Regions from separate parts of the Homo sapiens genome. Here all the other regions are linked to region 2. Evidence: promoter capture Hi-C in 16 types of primary human blood cells and fetal thymus (Javierre and others, 2016). All regions are on one chromosome and are shown on one strand. Each heading gives the region's core, a stretch centred on a gene start or on the middle of the fragment in contact. The rest is flanking DNA. Distances are from core to core; before and after follow the strand shown.

Region 1 (3,962 bases), core at 1,328-3,827, 280 kb after region 2:
AAAAAAAAAAAAAAAGCTCTGTGGGTGGGGCAGGCATTAGTAGCTTCCAAAGCTCCTGTTAAAGAAAATATTATTCAATGATATTTGTTTAAGTATTCTAAAGAAGACCTCATTCAGGACCATCATGACAGGTGTAAGGACCACTGCAATGGAATTTTGCAGCGTGAAGAGTGATTGGGCTCAACTTTGACTACAGCATGGGCAAGTGGAAATTTAAAGCCAAGGAGCAGGGTGGGGCCCATGGATGCAAAGTTACTAAGAGGAAATATCAGGAATAAAGGAGATTCTAGCTAAACCAGCTTAATAGGATTCTTGCTGAAGACAGGCCTGGATGTCTTCAACCAGTGGGATGGTGGAGGATGAGGAACCCAATCCAATATTGAGGTTTGATCAGACATCAAGGGTGAAGGGATGACCTAGCAGGGATCTTTGCTGAAGCTGAATTGTAAGTGCACAGATAGGCTTAGGAAGATGTTCAGGAGTCTGACTAAAGTTTGGTCAGGCAAAGAATCTTTGTCACTCCCTAGATGATTCCAACTTGCAGTCAAGTTGAAGAACCAGTGAATGACAGCACGTTGCAGGTGGGTTTCAGAAACTCCCTGAGAATCTCTAAGGGTAGCTCCAGATAATATCCTGGACAGAGGTGGACAATGGGGAGGCGATCACAGTGGATCTGGGCTATGAGGTGTCAGATGCTGGTACCAGTCCTAAGTCTGCACATAGGACTGGCTCGTGCTCTGGGATGTGGCTGCATGTAAGCATTGGACAAACTGACCACTACAGTACTCGACAGACACTGGATCCAAGCCTGCAGGACCTAAGGACTAGTGGGGATTGGCCTTCTTTGGAATAACTGCTTCTGTAGTAGCTGGCAGAGCTGCAGGTTACTGCTTTATAAGAGTGAGCACTACCTTGCAGCTCCATAACCCACATGTCAGGTTGGCCTTGGGCACTACCATCCACATACCCAGCACTTCTGAGCAGCCCTGGCCAGCCTCTGCAGCCAGCTGTCCCCAGCTTCTGTGACCATGTTCAGGGAAGGAACAAACAGGCAGCTTACAGCTGAAGGTTTGCATTTGTCTATTTAGGAACAAGGACACATAGCCACATGGCATGCAAGGCAGCTTTTTAAAAGAAGCAGTACACCTCCTCAGTAGACACACGTCCAGATGGGGCCACACCATACAGGTTCCACTAATGACTTAGATGCACTAGGCACCCCAGGCACATCAGGGAGAGAGACGTGGGAGCCTTGTCAGGGTAGCCTGGACTTTTAGATTTCCCCTCTTACTATGGTTGATGAGAAAGATCAAGTATTTACACACCGCAGACCAATGGAGCATATTTGTTGTATCCAAATGGAATAGAACAGTTGTTTTCAATCTGTACTACTCCACAACATTAAGACTTTTTTCTATTTTCTCAAAGTTTCAGCAGAAGTGTTACAAAAGAGGCCCCAGAGAGCTGCCTTGTCCTTTCCACAATGTGAAGATACAGCAAGAAGATGCAGTTTCTATGAACAAGGAAACAGGCCCTCACCAGATAGCCAATCTGCGGTGCTTTGATCTTGCACTTCCCAGCCTCTAGGACTGTGAGAAATAAATTTCTTTTGTTTATATTCTACCCATTTTATGGTCTTCTGTTACAGCAACATGAACAGACTAAGACAACCCTCACGACCAAATTACTTCCTAAAGGCTCTGCTTCTAATATCATCACATTGGGGGGTAGGATTTAAACATATGAATTTGGAGGGGACACAAACATTCAGTCCATAACAGATGAGAATGAGGTTAGAAGGTTAGAGGAGGCAGTTGATCACAAATTATTTGAAACCATTTCTAGTATTCTGTGATTAAGAAACAGAAGCTATTTTAGAGATATAGTTTAGGCCTCCACTATTCCCACTTTATAACTAGAGAAACCTAACTCTCCAGCAGCCACATGCCCAGAGTCACAAAGTGATTAGCAGTGTGCTGGGACTACAATAATCATCTCTTAGCTCCAAGCCTCATGCGCTTTCCATGCCACCAGACTGACTCATAGTAACCTGACTGTCATAGGAATACTACTTCTTTCAACTGGATTCAGAAAATAGTTAAGCAGATTCTAAATCAGGCTAGGATATTAAATCCAAACAGCCTGTGTGGAAATAAAGACCAACCACATGAGAACAGGGAGTGGATATGCATTCAGAGATTACTATAGTGAGGGAGTCATCCCTTGCATTTTGGCAGAGATTCAAAGGCAGGCAGAGGAGTGGGAAAGCTTTATAGTAGGGAAAAAGAGAATTCATGTGTACCCTGATTGGAAGCTGTTGGCATGGGGAAGCTGCAGACAGACTACCTATAAATGAGGCATCCTGTGTAATGTTTAGGGGTGCATATTTGACTTTTTCTGGTAGTTCCTAAGTTGGAAGTAGAAAAATTAAAGAAGCTGTCAATTATTGAAGCAAGTGCTGGCCATTTGAGGCCAATTGTTACAGGAGTTATTGTTTGGGTTCCTGGACTGTTTCTTAGAGATAGTAGTCAAATCTCCAGCAAGTCTGACTTGTGGATCATAGACTGGCTTCCTGGGCTGTTTATTGTAGATAATAGGGTTGTTTCCTGGCCTGATTGCTGCAGGTTGTGGATCAGAGTTCTATTTTTATATATGTTCTGGCCATTGTCCATTTGTCTATTCAGTCTCTCAGTTGTCTCAATCCATTTACCATCCCCATTCTCTCATAATCCAGAATTTTTGTCATGAACTACATCTTCTGATTTATGTATTTGTGGTTTGCAAAGTTGTGGTGGGTGGGAGATTGTTTGGATTTTCTTATTCACAATGCAATGAATGTTTTAATGGGCAAGCAAAGATTGAATCAAAAATATCTAGCAGCTCTGAAAAGCTTCACTCTGAGTACTGCTGCTTGCTGTTCTCATGAGAACAGTTGCTAGGATAAAATACAGCTTTTCTTTGAAGTATTATTACTTTATTCATTCATTATGTCTTTGTAAAATACCTACATCACACAAAGAACTATTGCAATAGGGACTATGGGGTTATAAATATGTGTGTCCTTCAGGGGGCATACATATGTGAAACACCTAGATAAAAATAATGACGGTGGATTGTTCTGATTTTTAAGTAAATTGGAAAGCATGAAAACTGTTTTATTGGGGAAAAAAAGCCTATTGGAAGAAACATCCTAAACAAATAAGAGATGGTTGATTATCCAGAAAAATTCATTTCCTCTCAATTTTATCAGACAAAAGATTATGCATTCCTTAGCCATCAGGGAAATGCAAATCAAAATCACAATGGCATACCACTTTATACCCACTAGGATGGCTGTAATAAAAAGAGAGATAATAACAAAGTGCTGAAGGAATCAGAACCTTCATATACTCCTGGTGGGAAAGTACAACGGTGCAGCTACGTTGGAAAAAGAGTTTGGCAACTCAAAAGATGAAACATAGAGTCAGTTACCATAAGACCCAGCAATTCCACTCCTAGATATCTACCCAAGAGAAATAAAAACATATATCCAGACCATAACTTGTACATGAATGTTCATAACAGCATTATTTGTAATAGCCCCAAAGTAGAAATCACCCAAACATCTATCAACAGATGAAGAGATAAACAAAATGGTATATCCATACAATGTTATGTAATTCACACATGAAAAGAAATGAAGTACTAATACACACTACAACATGGATAAATCTTGAACGTATCAGGCTAAGTAAAGAAGTCAGTTCCATTGACATGAAATGTCCAGAATGGGTAGATCTACAGAAAGTACATTAGTAGTTGCTTCATGGCTGTGGGCTGGGAAGAAATTGAGAATGACTGCTAAATAGTATGGGATTTCTTTCAGGTATGATAAAAATATTTTAATAGTGATTATGGTGATGGTTGTACAATTTGGTGACTATATGAGTACTAAAAACAACCGGCTTGCACACTTTAAATGA
Region 2 (4,438 bases), core at 400-2,899:
GCCTGGAGCGGTGGCTCACGCCTGTAATCCCAGCACTTTGGGAGGCCGAGGTGGGTAGATCACGAGGTCAAGAGATCGAGACCATCTTGGCCAACATGGTGAAACCCCGTCTTTACTAAAAATACAAAGATTAGCTGGGCGTGGTGGTGCGTGCCTGTAGTCCCAGCTACTCGGGAGGCTAAGGCAGGAGAATCGCTTGAACCAGGGAGGTGGAGGTTGCAGAGATCACGCCACTGCACTCCAGCCTGGCGACAAAGTGAGACTCCGTCAAATAAATAAATAAATAAATAAATAAATAAATAAATAAATAAGTAAAAGATGTGGCCAAATAGCTGCAGGAATGTTGGGGCATAGTAGAAAGAGCCCAGGATTAGGAGTCCGCAGACAGGATTCCAGTTCTGTCACTAGAAAGCTGTATCTCTATCTTGCTGGAATTCATCCCTTCCAGCTCTCAAGGCATTGGAATCACATCTGTGAACAGGAAAACTAGCACACCAGAGTCAGAATCAAGCAATAGTTATTTATCTAGTTCCCACCCTGTGCAAGGTACCAGGTGCTCTAAGATTCACTCCAATCCATGAAGTGCGTCTACTCTTTCACCGAGATTTGCCAGTCGTCTTTCAGGGTATTTTTCCTTGCTTTCTGGATTTGATGACTTGTCTGAAACTGAAGTTCTCTCTGGAATGACTGGACCTCTTTCACTGCAGCGTCAGGAATCTCTTGCAAAGCAAGCATGGTGAACTTCCAAGATGCTGGGCCACTGGGGGAAAGGGTGCAATTAATAATCCCTACCACTTATTGAACGTATACCAAGTGCTAGGTTTTTTACTTATGTTCCCTTTTAATCCTTTGAAATGGCTTGACTCTACTCTTATTTATGTTTTTCTGATAAGGAAACTAAGGATTAAAGAGGTTAGGTAACTTGCAGCTAGAAAACGGTCTACCTTCAAAAGCATCCTCTTGACAATTCCACTAGGACCAACACCAATACCACCGAGCCCTCGTTGCTGCCTCTTCAGCGCAGAATAGCCCACCAAGTCCACGTTTCCCTAGTCCCAAGGTCGGATGGCTGGGGAGGGTAGAGGATGCAACGGAAGGACGTTAATGGAGAATTTTGCAGGGTCTGGGAGCAGAGCAGTAAACGCAGCCCTAAGCACTGAGTATGCTACAGTTTGGTAAAATCCATCCAAGCAGCTTTGGGATCCAAGGCTTGCACTGTATCCCCAACCAACACTAGGCAACGCCCCAAGTCCCCACACTTCCCACTCCGATAGGCGAAACTGCAAGAACCGGGAGGGGCGGCTGCGGCGTTTAGGCGCGAGGCACACACCATACCCTTCCGCAGCTTCCCACCTCCTCCAGACGCACGTGTTTAAAGAGTCCCTGCTCCAACCGGTCCCGCCCCACCTCCGCTCGGCCTCCAGCCCTGCTTGTACTGCTGGCTTCAAGTTTCCTCCGAGAGGCGGGCGTGCACAGCTGCAGTGGCGGCGGCAGCGGCCACCAAGCGCCCGGCGGCGCTTCGCCACCCACCTTTCCTCAGCCCCCGGCGCTGCAGTCTCCGCCCGCCGGGGAGGGCGCGCTCAGCGGAACAGGAGTCGAGGGTGGGGCGCCGAGAGGAGGGAATCCCGGGTCGCACCGCTACAGTTCTCGCAGTGGCAAAGGCGGCGGCGGCGGCGGCGGCAGCGGCAGCAGCAGGTGGAGCGAGCTACAGCGTTTGGCCTGAAACCCACTGCTGCAGCCACCCGGGCTGGAGTTGGCCCGTTGGGTGGAGCCAGTGCTCGCCCCGGTCCGACCCCCGGTTTCCGGGACACTTGGGTTGCGGAGGCCGGCTGGCCGGAGTCACGGTTGGGGACGGGCGCGCCTCGGAGCGCACGGCTGCGCTGGAAGCCGCGTCTGGGGCGCAGGACCAACGGGACCTACCTCCTCCCGGCTACCTAAAGACTCCTTCTCTCGGGAAAGAGCGCTGCCCGGCTCTGGGATTTGGGAGGAGCTCGGAGGCCGCTCGGGCACCTCGCTGGACACTATCCGTTTGCGCCCCGGTGGCGCGGGAGGGTCCGGAGCGGAGCGCTCGTCTCTCCTCAGCGGTTTAGTGGAGAAAAGCAGAGAGCTCTTCCTGGGGCGAATGGGACCTCCTCCCTCGGTCCTCCGTGGAGTCGTCGCATCGCTTGTCGTGTTGGTCTCGAGGGGCTCACAGCTTGGCACTAATTTGCAGGTGTTCGCTGCTGATTTGGTTTCTTCTTCGATTTGCGGACGGTTCCCTCCAGCGACTCTCGACACACGTTTTCCTGTCTTCGCCGGAGGGCCGGGTCTGGGGTCGCCGGAGCCTGCGGGAATCCAGCGCTTATTCGCTGACCCTCGAGTCGCTTCGCTAGCTGTGCGCCCTCCTGGGCACTAGCCTGGAGAGGAGCGTGCAGACGCGGCTCCTTGGAGGGAGTGCGGTCCTCTAGGGAGGCATCGGGCTCCTAGGGGCTTCTTGGCGTGTGTGGTGGGATTGGGGTCCGCCGGCCATGGCCTTCACTTTCGCTGCGTTCTGCTACATGCTGTCTCTGGTGCTGTGCGCTGCGCTCATCTTCTTCGCCATCTGGCACGTGAGTAACACGCTTTGGTCTCTCTTCTTTCGCCCCAATTTCGCTAAATTTCCCCGATTTCACCCCACTTTTTCCACCTTGCGGGCGTGGGCGAACCGGAAGGTTGGACCTTCTGCCGCTCCACTGTCCCGGGGCAGGAGGCAGTTCGCTGCATCCCGCCGGGCGCGCCTTCGGTGCCCTGGCTGGAGGCGAGGGGCCGCTGGTGCCCAGGTAGGACACCCTCTGCAGGGCCCGACTGGGCGTCCCGGGTCCCGGGCGCCGGGGAGTGGCGGCTACAACCACAACTAACCCCTTCCTCTCCCGCCCCGTCCTCTCCTGCCGGCGGGAGGCGAAGGAGAAGCGCCGCCGTCGGTCCCGGCAATTAGTCAAGTAGCTATAATAACTAAACATTTAAAATGTCAGCATCTGTGGTGGGTTGCATTTAGATATAATTGGAGACAAAGTGGAAACACGACGGGAGCGCCTTGTAAGAGGTAGGGAGAAGCCGAGCCCACGGAGAGGAAGGAGACCAGGCGATGGGGGTCGAAGTGGAAGGCGGTGGGGGAAAGGCGAGAAGGAGAAGAGCAAGGAGGCGAGGGAGACTGGGAAGGGCAGGCATCATTAAGGCCATGGAGGAAAGTCACGAAGAGAGACCGTGGAGAGCGACGACGGTGTCCTCCATCTGCCCTCTTGGCGTCTGAAGTCCGACTCCTGAAGACCCCCTGCAGGTGGCGAACCTCCGCTAGGCCCCCAGCGTCCCCAGCCCACACAAGCTTCCTGTCACCCTTCCCGGGGCTACGCCAGGTGGAGGGCAGCCGTGGATCCCAGTTCTTTAGGTGTGGGTGGGAATAGAGGAGCGCAAGCTTCTGAATAGGGGAAGAGAAGTACTGAGAGAGCGCGCAGGAGTGCGTACGCCGGTCCTCTCAAAGACTGTGCAACATTTAGCGAGTGCATGCAACTCTCAAGGCTTCCTTCTCTGAGGTTGTTTAAGCCCCCTATCCTCACCCTCAGAGGGCTGGTGGGAAGAATGGCCAAGGCCAAATGTTTAGAAGGAGCACCCCAGTGCATAATTTCCCACCTTTAACAGCCTTGCCCTGCCCAGCGTCTAGGTGACAGAGAAGGACCCTGAGACGAATTCTTGGAGGCATGGTTCTGGTGAGCATCACAGACTCTCATACAGTGGGGATGACCCAAAATGAAGACGTGGAGAAAATTGCAGGGTGGGTGAGATGCCCTTGTTTTCTATAAGTGGTTTGCAGAGTGAGAGTTTGTCTTAAAATAGAACTAAGCAGCTAGAGCAGCTCCTGCTACAGGGCTCTGACAGAGAGGAGAGGGGAAACTCGGGGAGGAAGGTGGCTTCCGATCATGTAACCTTAGGAAAGACCCTTGCTGGCTTCCTTCCACATCTCTAAAGTGAGAAAATTGACCTGGATAGTCGCTAAGCTTTCCCCCATTTCTCAGATTGTGTAAATCCGTGCATCAGTAGACTTAGGAATCTGGGGGTGACAGGGAATCCAAACATAGATATTTGGGGGATGATTAAAACAATTCCGCTATTTAGAAGTAATGGGATTTTAAACCCTCCCTTCTCTGCTCTGCAAGGCTGGGTCTAATCTATAGTAGAAAATTGAGGCTTGAAGTTGTTGACAGTTCTTAAGGGAAAAGGAAACTTACCTGATTTAGAATAGAAAGGAATACAGATTAGATCATGCCCAAGCAGTGCAGCAAACCTCTGCTAATGTGCTTTAAAGGAACTTTCTCAGCTTCTTTGGATATGGGGAGTTACTTGGATTCTAGAAGGCCAACTACTCCCTTTTCTTCTGCAATACTTCATTTGCTGTTTTCTGTTTTTGCCTTGGCCAGAGGGTGTC
Region 3 (4,133 bases), core at 1,125-3,624, 260 kb after region 2:
TCTGGAGAAAAAAGAACTCTTATACACTGTTGGTAGGAATGTAAATTAGTACAGCCACTACAGAAAACAGTATGGAGATTTCTCAAAAACTAAAAATAGAACTACCGTATGATCTAGGAATCCCACTATTGGGTATTTATCGAAAGGAAGAGAAATCAACATTTCAAAGATGTATCTGCACTGCCATATTTATTGCAGCAGTATTCACAATAGTAAAGATATGGAATCAAACTAAGTGTTCGATAGATGAATAGATAAGGAAAATGTGGCATATATACACAGTGTAAACTATTCAGCCACAAAAAAAGAATGAAAAATCATGTTCTTTGCAGCAACATGGATGGAACTGGAGGTTATTATGTTAAGTGAAATAAGCCAGACACAGACAGACAAATATTGTATGTTCTCACTCATAAGTCAGAGCCAAAAAGTTGATTTCATCGAGATGGGGAGTAGAATGATAGATACTGAAGGCTGGGAAAGGTGTCTGGATGGGATGGGGGAATAAAGAGAAGTTGGTTAATGGGTGCAGACAGTGAGATAGAAGGAATAAGTTCTAATGTTTGATAGCAAAAAAGAGTGACTATAGTTAGCAACAAAGTATTGTATAGTTGAAAATAGCTAGAAGAGAACACTTGAAATGTTCCCAACACATAGAAATGATAAATACTAGAGGTGATGGATACCCCAAATACCCTCACTTGATTATTACTCATTCTTGCATATAACAAAATATTACATGTACCTTATAAATATGTACAAAATTATGTATTGGTTAAAAAAACACCCTTGTAGAGGCAGAATTATGTATCTCTACATCTCCCAACAGTGAGCACTTTATTCCTGATTTGCCAAGGAGCTAGTCTGATGGACAGAAAGAAGTGTGGTAGACCTTCTCTAAGATGGTCCTCATCTCCTGGTATTCATGCACTGTGTCAGCAGTCCCCTTCTCTGCAGTGCGTCTGGACTTACCAATTCAGTTATCATGAATAAAACATAGCAAAAGTAATTGGATGTCATCACCAAGCTTAGATTATAAAAAGATCATAGTTCTCATCTTCGGCATTCTCTGGCTTTCTCTCTCTCTCTCTCTCGGATCAGCAGTTTCCATGTAGTGGGGACACTCAGGTAGCTACCTGGGCATGCTACTTGAACTCTCTGAGCCTCAGAGAGGCTCATACCCATGCCTACCTCATAAAGTACTAAATGAGATAAAGCATATAAAGCACTTAGGAAGTGCCCGGCATAGAATATGTGTTCAAGCAATTCATTTATTCATTCAGTGTAGACTTCTTGGGCATTTAGTAGTCAATAGTACATGTCTGATGCCATTCTAGGCCATGGGGATCCTGTGGTGAGTGAAAAAAGTCCTTGCTCGGATCGAGCTTACAGTCTGGCGAGGGGAAAACAGATGTACAGTGCAGGTGGCAATAAGGTCTGTGAAGAAAAAGTCCAGCAGGGGAAGGGGATCGCATGTGTGAGTTTATAGAAGATGGTCACATTTGGGTGTGAACCTCTGCCTGCTTTGGGGAAAGGTGCTCTAGGCAGAGGCAACCACAGCCGCTAAGGTCCTGGGTTGGGGTCTTGTTTAGTATGTTTAGAATAGGAAGGAGTTGGGGCCGAAGCAGAGAGAGATGAGGGCAGAGAAAAAAGTCATGGGGGCCAGATTCTGCAGGGCCTTGAAGGCCATTGTTGAGAGTTTGCATTTGACTCTGAGTGAGGGGAAGCTATTGGAAGGTTTAAGGTAGACCAGTGATATCATCAGACTTATGTTTTAAAAGCATTACTTTGTCAGAGCAGATGGATGGAATACAGGTTGATTGCTGTTTTTATTATTATTACTAGTATTCTTTTGTACATCTTTCTTCTCTGGGAGAACCAAGTGTTTTTCTTTCCCTCAGAACAGGTATAAAAATGTGAATAAATCCCCCCGAGGTGCTGTCATATGGTAGAGAGCAGTATTTTGGGGCTGTCTTATTTTCTTATAAAGCTAACTTCTCTTCAGAGCCTATTATAATTTTTTAGTCTCAGTTGAGGGACTTGAGAACAATATATTTAGATTATTTTCTCAAAGAGCTATTGGTACAGATTTTAAACAACAATCAGTGTGTTCAGTAAAATCACTCATGGCCTTATTAGTCATGCAGCACTTGTGGATTGGTCCAGAAAACAGAATTTAGAGGATGGGTGCATATGTATATGTGCATGCTTGTTTATGTGCATAAGTGTGCATGTGTGTGCAGATGCACAGGTACGTGTATGTGTATTACAGTCCTGGTGTAGGTATGTGAGTGAATGTGTTTCTATGTGCACGTGTATGGCACATGCACGTGTGGCATATGCATGTGTGCGCATACATACATGTGTGCGTATGGATGACAGAGTGTATTCTCTATGTGTGCACATATGTGTGCTTTATGTGCATTGTATGGCTTGGGTGTTGCATATTTATAAGCATGTGCAGTGTTCATGGGCCTCTGTTTGATGCAAAACTAAGAAGTGGCTCGTCACCATCTCTGTCCTTGATATATTTTCAATCCAGTTGGGGAGATTCAATATAGAAGCAGCTGTGAAATAGCACTGCCATCAATAGGTCATCTTTTATTGGACGTTTTCTACAAAGTGTGTCATTATTCATGAGAGTATGCTGCAATAAAATATGGTCTTTGTTTTCTTTATCCACAAAGTTAAAAGGTGGAATCGAATAAGTTTTAGGTTCCCTCCTGTCTAAAGTATGATTTAAACACTCATTTTCCAGTATTACAACCATCATTTAAAAGTCTTTGAGAAAAGCAGCAACTGTAAAAAATGTTGCAGTGTTGAGCACCCTGGCCAGGCTTCTGCAGTTTGGAGCATTTTCTCCAGCTCTGGGGCTGCAGAGCTGAGGTAGGGTGGCTCCACCTCCTTCTCCAGAGAAGTGACTAGAGCACCTTGAAAGGCTAGGGAAAGGCTAGAGGCTTTAGGGACTCATCCAGCTACTTCTGCCCAGGTCCACTTGTCACCAGGCTTGATGAGTGTGAGTAACCCATCACCTTCACGCATTGACCTCCCTGCATCACTCATTCATTACTCATTCATTTATTCTCTTTCCTTTCTCTTCTCCCTCCTTGTCTCCTCTCCTATTCACTCCCTCTCCTTTCACCAACTCTCCCCTCCTCTCCTTCACTGAGGAGGCAGGCAAGATCAGACACCCAGCTGGGGGCTGGGCATAAAGAAACATGCATCTGACCTTTTCTACATGACAACTGTGGAAGTCTGCTGCTAAATCTTTCATATGATCTGCAATTCTTTTTTCCCACCTACAGATTACTCCACGCTTCCTAGCTCTTGTCATAAATCCACAGATGCCTCATTTCACAATAAGGAAAACTGAGCCAAGACGGGTTTTAGTGACTCATTTAAAATCTCACTGCTGCTTATGGCACCTCTGATTATCATCCCCAAATAAAGTTTAAAAGCCACCACATCATGGGCTATTTTAAAAGATAAACTTAGGCACATTAAAACTTTAAAGAGTATATTTGAGTAGACAGGAATTCATGAATCAATAACACTGGACCACCCATGGTTCAGCACTCCACTGTGGGGGACCCGGGAGGCAGAGAGAGGAAAATTTTATAAGGTGTTTGGGGAAGTAAAAAATATTTACTTTTATATAAAAAAAAATTTGGCTAAAGTGGAAAGTTCCTAGTTAGAGGTTAACTGGTGGTTTCTGATTGGTTAAGCTTAAGTTTCATTTTTCTGTTTATATTGAGCTTAGGTTTGCTTTTGCAGGAATCTGAGGCACAAGAGTCTTCTCAGCCTAATGGACTCACAATTTTTTTTTCTTTTTAACAGCTACAGTCCATTTACAGGTTAATCTTTAGGTGAACTCTGGAGCTGAGTTCAAAGTCTTCCTTGTAATCCTGGGAAAGAAGAAATGAGAGGCCAGACCTGGCAATTTCTGAGCCATGGTCAGAGAGCAAAATATGAGGATCATGTTGACTGTAGACCTAATGCATTTTTATTTTAAAATCCTTTTTCTTAACGAATCCAGACCATTGAAATCTATCTGTAATGGGTTTGCAATTCTACTGGATTTCCTACCCTCACTCTTTTAAATATTGATTTGATATTGCCTTTAAAAGTTATAT

The links. The method cuts DNA at HindIII sites, captures the fragments that hold promoters and counts their contacts. A CHiCAGO score of 5 or more calls a contact.
Region 1: a fragment that was not itself captured here is called in contact with the fragment with the promoter of CNIH3 in region 2 in 2 of 17 cell types (M1 macrophages and M2 macrophages); the score reaches 5.8 in M1 macrophages.
Region 3: a fragment that was not itself captured here is called in contact with the fragment with the promoter of CNIH3 in region 2 in 3 of 17 cell types (M2 macrophages, M1 macrophages and M0 macrophages); the score reaches 8.0 in M2 macrophages.

What each region holds. Positions count from the first base shown.
Region 1 is chr1:224,895,612-224,899,573 of GRCh38, forward strand. The region is part of intron 1 of LOC105373109 (a long non-coding RNA gene); the gene reads right to left. Among named protein-coding and RNA genes, the nearest start is that of DNAH14, 32 kb to the right of the region's middle. The HindIII fragment of the contact is 622 bases long and covers 2,267-2,888 here.
Region 2 is chr1:224,614,668-224,619,105 of GRCh38, forward strand. It overlaps CNIH3 (cornichon family AMPA receptor auxiliary protein 3), which reads left to right and starts at 1,650. Exons shown (of 6, transcript NM_152495.2): 1 at 1,650-2,588. The coding sequence starts at 2,508. It overlaps CNIH3-AS2 (CNIH3 antisense RNA 2), which reads right to left and starts at 1,560. Exons shown (of 4, transcript NR_183287.1): 1 at 1,531-1,560; 2 at 945-1,069; 3 at 537-760. The HindIII fragment of the contact is 4,503 bases long and covers 1-3,338 here.
Region 3 is chr1:224,870,376-224,874,508 of GRCh38, forward strand. No RefSeq gene overlaps it. Among named protein-coding and RNA genes, the nearest start is that of DNAH14, 57 kb to the right of the region's middle. The HindIII fragment of the contact is 2,698 bases long and covers 1,026-3,723 here.